Linked DNA regions of Homo sapiens: all the other regions are linked to region 1. The links are contacts of gene promoters, found by promoter capture Hi-C in blood cells and fetal thymus (Javierre and others, 2016). All regions are on one chromosome and are shown on one strand. The core of a region is centred on a gene start or on the middle of the fragment in contact, and the rest is flanking DNA. Distances in the headings are between cores, read along the strand shown.

Evidence for each region. Contacts are between HindIII fragments. The CHiCAGO score rates a contact against its expected background, and 5 or more counts as called.
Region 2: a contact is called between a fragment that was not itself captured here and the fragment with the promoter of SLC36A3 in region 1, in 1 of 17 cell types (total B cells). The highest score is 8.8, in total B cells.
Region 3: a contact is called between a fragment that was not itself captured here and the fragment with the promoter of SLC36A3 in region 1, in 1 of 17 cell types (M2 macrophages). The highest score is 5.6, in M2 macrophages.

What each region holds. Positions count from the first base shown.
Region 1 is chr5:151,302,487-151,305,080 of GRCh38, reverse strand. It overlaps SLC36A3 (solute carrier family 36 member 3), which reads left to right and starts at 1,315. Exons shown (of 10, transcript NM_181774.4): 1 at 1,315-1,854. The coding sequence starts at 1,727. The HindIII fragment of the contact is 21,144 bases long and covers 1-2,594 here.
Region 2 is chr5:151,055,861-151,058,454 of GRCh38, reverse strand. TNIP1 (TNFAIP3 interacting protein 1) reads left to right here. Exons shown (of 18, transcript NM_006058.5): 6 at 1,498-1,689. Among named protein-coding and RNA genes, the nearest start is that of TNIP1, 24 kb to the left of the region's middle. RefSeq lists an enhancer at 1,624-2,150. The HindIII fragment of the contact is 3,905 bases long and covers 1-2,594 here.
Region 3 is chr5:151,444,147-151,446,740 of GRCh38, reverse strand. It overlaps a transcript of SLC36A1 not described here. Among named protein-coding and RNA genes, the nearest start is that of SLC36A1, 2.2 kb to the left of the region's middle. The HindIII fragment of the contact is 779 bases long and covers 922-1,700 here.

The sequences.
Region 1 (2,594 bases), core at 66-2,565:
TGTTACAATAGCCTACAAGATCCTGCCCACCCACTCCATCCCGCTTTCATTACCTCTTTAACCACATCTCTGGTGTGACCATGTAATTATCATCCAAACCAGGATATCTCTTTTTATTTTATTTTATTTTTTTTTTGAGATGGAATTTTGTTCTTGTCACCCAGGCTGGAGTGCAATGGTGCGATCTCCGCTCACTGCAACCTCCACCTCCCAGGTTCAAGTGATTCTCCTGCCTCAGCCTCCCAAGTAGCTGGAACTATAGGTACATGCTACCAAGCTCGGCTAATGTTTATATTTTTAGTAGAGATGGGGTTTTACCATGTTGGCCACGCTGGTCTCTAACTCCTGACCTCAGGTGATCTGCCCACCTCGGCCTCCCAAATTGCTGGGATTTTAGGTGTGAGCCACTGAGCGTGGCCTATTTTATTTCATTTTTAGGGTGGTTTCCCAGGCTGGCCTCAATCGATCTTCCCATTTCAGCCTCCCGAGTAGTTGGGTCTACAAGTGTGCACCACCTCGCTCAGCTGCAGGATACTTTTAATAATGAAGGGAGGCACCATTAGTAATTATGCCAGGGCAATAGGCACAAACCAGGCGAATCCATTCTCCTCTGTGTGCTCCCAGATAGCCATATGACCTCATTGCCATTCCTAAAACACCCCAGGCACTCTCCTGCCTCAGGACCTTTGCACTTCTTGCCCCTCTGCTAGGAGTTTCTTACCCAAGACCTACATGAGTTGTGTTCCCTCATCTTGTTCAGCCCTTTGCCCAAATGTCACTTTCTAGGTGAGGCCCTCTCTGATCACCCAATCTAAAATTGCGACCCTCCCCCTAGCTGAAACTCTCCATTACCCTTGCCTGGATTTTCTCTATACCGCTTTTTACTAACAGATACTTGATATATTTGTTTCGTTTATTGTCTGTCTCCCCCAGCCCCTCCAGATTGTAAATTCCATGAGAACAGAGATTGTAGTAAGTTTTCTACCCTAATATATTCCCAGCATGGAGAACAGTTTCTAGCATATATTAGATGCTCAATAAATATTTTCTGAACAAATGATTTTTTTTAAACATGACCTGCACTCCCTTCCAAATCACTGGCAGGCCATACGCCTCCTGTATAGAAATTCTGAGCAGGTGGCATTTGAACTGGGCCTTACAAGCCACTCTTCACCCCAAACAGGGAACATGGTAGCTGGATTATGTTCTGTTGGGCCACATCTGCATCCCAGGATTCTGCTGCAGCTCATTGGCTGGGCAGCCTCCATTGTGAGGTAGCTCTGGTTTTTTCCTTGCCAAAGACAGACAAGCACTGAGCCTGGCCCCACGTCCAGGCACCAGGACCTCCAATCCAATGGTGTCTTCTTCCTCCCAGTCACACTGTTCACTTTGCCCTACAGCAGCAAGGGCTAAACTAGGAGAGGCCAAAAGCCCAGGCAAGTCCTGGTTGGGCAAGCAATTGCGAGTGAAACTGAGGACCATCCTGACTGAGATGGGTCTTTCATAAGTCCCCCAAGAGCCAGGTGAGGCATCATCAACATCAGCCTCTCCTGCCACCACCGCTTCCCTGATTCATGCACTTCAGGCTTCAGCCAGCAGCACGCATCCTTGGGGTTAGGAGCCAGCATCTCAGGTCAGCAGCCATGGTTTCTCTGGAGAAAGACCCATCAGAGGCTCATTCAGAGCCTTAACCCTGAGCCTCTGCCACCTACCCACCGTGTTGAAGATGTCATTGCTTGGAAGGGACTACAACAGTGAGCTGAACTCCTTGGACAACGGACCTCAGTCACCCTCAGAGAGCAGCAGTAGCATTACTTCAGAGAATGTCCATCCTGCTGGAGAAGCTGGACTATCGTAAGTGGCCGCACCGCCCTTCCAGGCCTGAGGTCAAGCACTGCTGTTTTTGCAACTCTGGACTATGTCTTCCTTCATCTATCTCCTTAACACGCTTATTCCATTAACACGATATGCGTGGATAAAAGATGAAACCTTCAGAATCTAAGGAGGTCAATCCCTGTGGCTCTGGCTACTAGCCCTGTTTCCCAGTTTTTACGAAGAACCCAGCTAGAGCAGCCACCCTCAACATGAGCAGCTTGTCTCCAGGAACAGTTTCCTATCTCAGGCTGTCTGCCCTTTCCTTCCTCCCTTTCTTTCTTCCACAGTCTCTGGCTGCCTTCTTCTCCTCACACATCTGCCATTATTCTCTCTGCCTCTTCTCCCCAACCCCCCATGCCATCCATCCAGAAAACAAAAGGTGCTAACCCCATGTCTCCACCTTTACTGCCCCAAACTCAGACACATGGAACTCTTCTCTCTTTTTTTTTAATTAAATTAAATTTAATTTAATTTTAAGTTCCAGGATACATGTACAGGACATGCGGGTTTGTTACATAGGTAAACGTGTGTCATAGTGGTTTTGCTGTACCTATCAACCCATCACCTAGGTATTAAGCCCCATATACCTTAGCTATTTATCCTGATGCTCTCCCATCCCCTGCCCCCCACCCCCAACCAGCCCCAGTGTTTGTCTTGTTCTCCTCCCTGTGTCCATGTGTTCTCATTGTTCAGCTCCCACTTACAAGTGAGAACATGCA
Region 2 (2,594 bases), core at 52-2,551, 250 kb after region 1:
GGTCCTTGGGAGTGGAATTGGTGTAACAAAGGCAATGTCTTTGGTAGGAGTATTCCAGATAGACTAGAGAGAAAGAGTCAACTATCTGGCCCACGGTGTGCTTTATTTCTTACATACTGTACTAGTTTGGGACTTTCTGAAATAGCTAAAGCTGTGGTTCCTTAAACTGTTTTGAGTCTTGGGTCCTCAGAAGCTGATGAATGCTTGGGCCATTCCCCAGAAGACACATGTGTAGGCCAGGCATGGTGGCTTACGCCTGTAATCTCAGTACTTTGGGAGGCCGAGGTGGGTGGATCACCTGAGGTCAGGAGTTCAAGACCAGCCTGGCCATTGTGGTGAAACCCCGTCTCAACTAAAAATACAAAAATTAGCTTGGTGTAGTGGTGCACACCTGTAATCCCAGCTCCTCAGGAGCCTGAGGCAGGAGAATCGCTTGAACCCAGGAGGCGGAGGTTGCAGGACGTATATGCAGATGTCCCTTGGTAAACATGGGAGAGTGGTTCCAGAACTCCCTGAGGATACCCAAAATCCATGGATGCTCAAGTCCCTGATGTAAAATGGCGTAGTAGTTCCCTATAACCTATACACATCCTCCTATATACTTTAAATCATCTCTAGATTACTTACGATACCTAATACAATGTAAATGCTAAATTTTGGTATACTGTATTGTTTAGGGAATAATGACAAGAAAAAAATTCTGTACATGTTCAATACAGTTTTTTGTTTGTTTGTTTTGGGACGGAATCTTGCTCTGTTGCCCAGGCTGGAGTGCTGTGGTGCGATCTCTGCTCACTGCAACCTCCGACTCCCTGGTTCAAATAGTTCTCCTGCCTCAGCCTCCCAAGTAGCTGGGATTACAGGCACGTGCCACCATGCCCAGCTAATTTTTGTATTTTTAGTAGAGACAGGGTTTCACCACTCAGGCCGTCTTGATCTCCTGACCTTGTGATCTGCCCGCTCAGCCTCCCAAAGTGGTGGGATTACAGGCGTGAGCCATCGCGCCCGGCCAGTTTGTTTTTTTAGAAGATTTTTGATCTGCAGTTGGTTGAATCCATGGATGCGGAACCCATGGATATGGAGGGCTGACTGTGCAGTGATGTCCCTTTTCTGGGCTTGTTACTGTCAGGGGTCAATTCATCCTCCTAAGAACCCTGTGAGGTTGAAGGGAGGGAAGGGTTGTGCGGACATTTGGTAGATGAGGATGCTGAGGTCCAGCAGACAAGTGACTTACTGTCAGGCACTCTGCAAGGCCCAGTGTGTGGGAGGATGGTGGCCCCGCTGCTGTGGAGCCACCAGTGGCCTGTGAGTCCTGGGTTCTGCCCTGTGAGTCAGCCCCAGACAGGGAACCTGCATAACTGGAGAATTTCCCGGGGCTGAGCTGGGGTCACAGGGGGAAACTGAGTCATGAGAAATGAGGAAGCAGAGGGAGAATGGACTGGCGGCGCCTACTCAGGCCTTGGTGAAGAGTGGGCCGTGTGCCCTTTCCCTCTCCAGGCGCTGGGCCCCCTGCCCCGTGAGGACGGCAACCTGATGCTGCACCTGCAGCGCCTGGAGACCACGCTGAGTGTGTGTGCCGAGGAGCCGGACCACGGCCAGCTCTTCACCCACCTGGGCCGCATGGCCCTGGAGTTCAACCGACTGGCATCCAAGGTGCACAAGAATGAGCAGCGCACCTCCATTCTGCAGGTGAGGCGCGTGGGGAGGGCAGCCCGAGACAGGCAGGCGTGCTTCCCCCCGAGCTCTTCCCACCTTCCTGCTCCTGGGAATCCACTGGTACCATGGGGACTTCTGAAGGCTGTGTTGTGGGCAGACTTCGGGCTTTTTGTTCAGGGTGATGAACAGGATAAGGAAGTTGTGGGGAGGGATGAGGAAGAGGAAGGAAATGGGGAAATACGGGATGGGCAATGCGAGTGTCATGGTTGGGGATACCCCCAGCAGCCCTGCCTTTATTTCTCATGTGCAGGGTTGGGGGATGGGAAGGGAGGGAACAAAGGTCAACTCCTTTCATAATGCCTCTTTCCCCCCAGGGTAGGCACCCTCATTATCACCACTTCACAGGTGGGGAAGCAGCCCTTTTTTTGCCCAAGGTCACCCAGCTGGTAAATGGTGAAGTAGGGATTGGAACCTCGATCTCTCGCATTCCAAAGCCCATACTCTTGACCACCATCCCAACCTGCCTCCCCTATTGAATTCCTTTTGAAAGCCTCCCTGTGCTGTGGGGAATGGACAGATTTCCTTGCTAGGCCAGGCCAGACCTTGGAGTTATATGGTCCTTGGTTCCAGTAGTGACCCTTTATTGCTGTATGACCTTGGACAAGTCACTTATCCTCTCTATCCCCCAATGTTCCTATCAGTAACATGAGCTAGAAGTGCCTCCATGGTTAGATTGCTGCATTAAATGAGGCCATGTACATGAAGCACCCAGTGCAGTCCAGAACCTAGTCCATGCTGGAAGAGAGGTCCCCATTCGGAGTTCATGACGGGCATCCACACTGGGCAGGGGGTCTTAGCCTTGTGGGCTTTAGCAGCGGGGAAGTGTTCAGTTATAATTGGTGACCATTCTAAAGATGGCAAAACGGAGGCTTCTGAGG
Region 3 (2,594 bases), core at 62-2,561, 140 kb before region 1:
GAATACACATTTTTTCTCTAACACACTTGAAACATTCTCTAGAATAGACCATATGCTAGTCCAAAAAACAAGCCTTAAATTTAAGAAGATTGAAATCATATTAATATTCTTTCAGACCATAATAATATGAAGCTAGAAATCAATGACAGGAGGAATCTTGGAAAATTCACAAATATGTGGAAATTAAACAACACGCTTTTTTTTTTCTTTGAGACAAAGTTGCGCTCTTATTGCCCCATCTGGAGTGCAGTGGTGCAATCTTGGCTCACTGCAACCTCTGCCTCCTGGATTCAAGCGATTCTCCTGTCTCAGCCTCCCAAGTAGCTGGGATTACAGGCACGTGCCACCACGCGCGACTAATTTTGTATTTTTAGTAGAGACGAGGTTCACCATGTTGGTCAGGCTGGTCTCAAACTCCTGACCTCAGGTGATCTGCCCACCTCGGCCTCCCAAAGTGCTGAGATTATAGGTGTGAGCCACCATACCCAGTCCTATGCTTCGAAACAACCAGTGGGTCAAAGATGAAATCAAACGGGAAATTTAAAAAATATTTTCAGACAATTGACAATGGAAACATAACATACCAAAGCTTATGGAATGCAGCAAAAGTAGTTCTAAGAGAGAAGTTTATAGCAATAAATGCCTACATTAAAAGAGAAGAAAGAGACCAATTAAATAGTTTAACATTATACCTCAGGAAACTGGAAAAAGAAGAGCTCACAAGACCCAAAGTTAAAAGAAGAAAAGAAAGAGCAGAACAGAAATAAATCAAATAGACAACAGAAAAAAAAACAGACAAAATCAATAAAACTAGAGTTGATTTTTTGGAAAAAATTAAATTGACGTACCCTTTGCTAGTCTAAGAAAAAAAAGAAGACTAATAAAATAAAAAATGAAAGTGAAGACACTACAACAGAAGCTTCAGAAATAAAAAGAATCATATGGGGCTATTGTGAACAATTATTTGCCAACATATTGGATAACCCAGATGAAATGGAGAAATCCCTAGAAAAATACAACCTACCAAGATTGAAATCAGGAAGAAATGGAAAGCCTGAACAGACTAATAACAAATAAAGAGATTGAAGATGAGACAGGGACTATCTGACTTTCTGGTTTTCTGTTTAAACTTCCCAACAAGACCAGATGGCTTCACAGCTGACTTCTACCAAACATTCAAAGAAGAAGGTTTGTTACTAAACTCTTCCAAAAAATGGAGCTAGAGGGAATACTTCCAAACACATTTTATGAGGCCAGCATCACCTTGATACCTAAGCCAGAGAAAGACGCCACAAGAAAAGAAAATTACAGGCTGATTTCGCTAATGCACATTGGTACAAAATCCTCAATAAAATATTTGCAAACAGAATTCAACAACAATCAAAAAAATTATGTATCATGACCAAGTGGGATTTATCCCTGGCATGCAAGGCTGGTTTAACATACACTAATCAAGCAATATAATACATCATATTAACAGGATGAAAAATGAAAACCACATGGTTATCTCAATTGGCCTGGCAAAAGCATTTGACAAAGTCCAACATCTTTTCCTTCCCTAACCCCCACCCCAACATACCTTCTTGATAAAAAAAAACTCTCAATAGTTTAGGTATAGAAAGAACATTCCTCAACATAATAAGGTCGTTTATGAAAAACACACAGTTAACATTTTAATTAATAGGGAAAAACTGAAAGCTTTTCCACCAAGATCCAGTAGCAGTCAAGGATACCCACCCTCACCACTTCTATTCAACATAGTACTGGAAGTACTAGCAAGAGCAATCAGCCAAAAAAGCAAAAGAAAGAAAGGCATCCAAATCAGAAAGAAAAAAGTAAAATTATCTTTATCTGCAGGTGACATCATCCTATATGTAGAAAACCCCAAAGATTAAAAAAATACTGTTATAATTCATGAATTTAGTAAATTTTCAGGACATAAAAATCAACATACATGACTGGGCTCAGTGGCTCATGCCTGTAATCCCAGCACTTTGGGAGGCCAGGGCAGTGGGTCACCTGAGGTCAGGAGTTCAAGACTAGCTTGGCCAACATGGTGAAACCCTGTCTCTACTAAAAATACAAAAGTCAGCCCAGCATGGTGGTGCATGCCTGTAGTCCAAGCTACTTGAGAGGCTGAGGCAGGAGAATTGTTTGAACCTGGGAGGCGGAGGTTGCAGTGAGCTGAGATCGCGCCCCTTCAGCCTGGGTGACAGAGTGAGACTCCATCTCAAAAAAAAATTAAAAAATCAATAATATTTTTATACACAAATAATTACCTACCTAAAAAAGAAATAAAGAGAATGATTTTATTTGTGATAGCATTAAAAAATACTCAATAATCAATTTAACCAAGGACATGAATAGGGTGTACACTGAAAACTATAAAACAATGATTAAATAAATTGAAGAAGACACAAATAAATGAAAAGATATCCCATGCACATGGATCAGAAGAATTAACATTGTGGAAATGTCCATACTATCCAAAGCAATATACAGATTCAATGCAATCCCTATCAAAATCCCAACGGCATTCTTTACTGAGATATAAGAAACAATCCTAAAATTTGCATGAGACCACAAAAGACCCT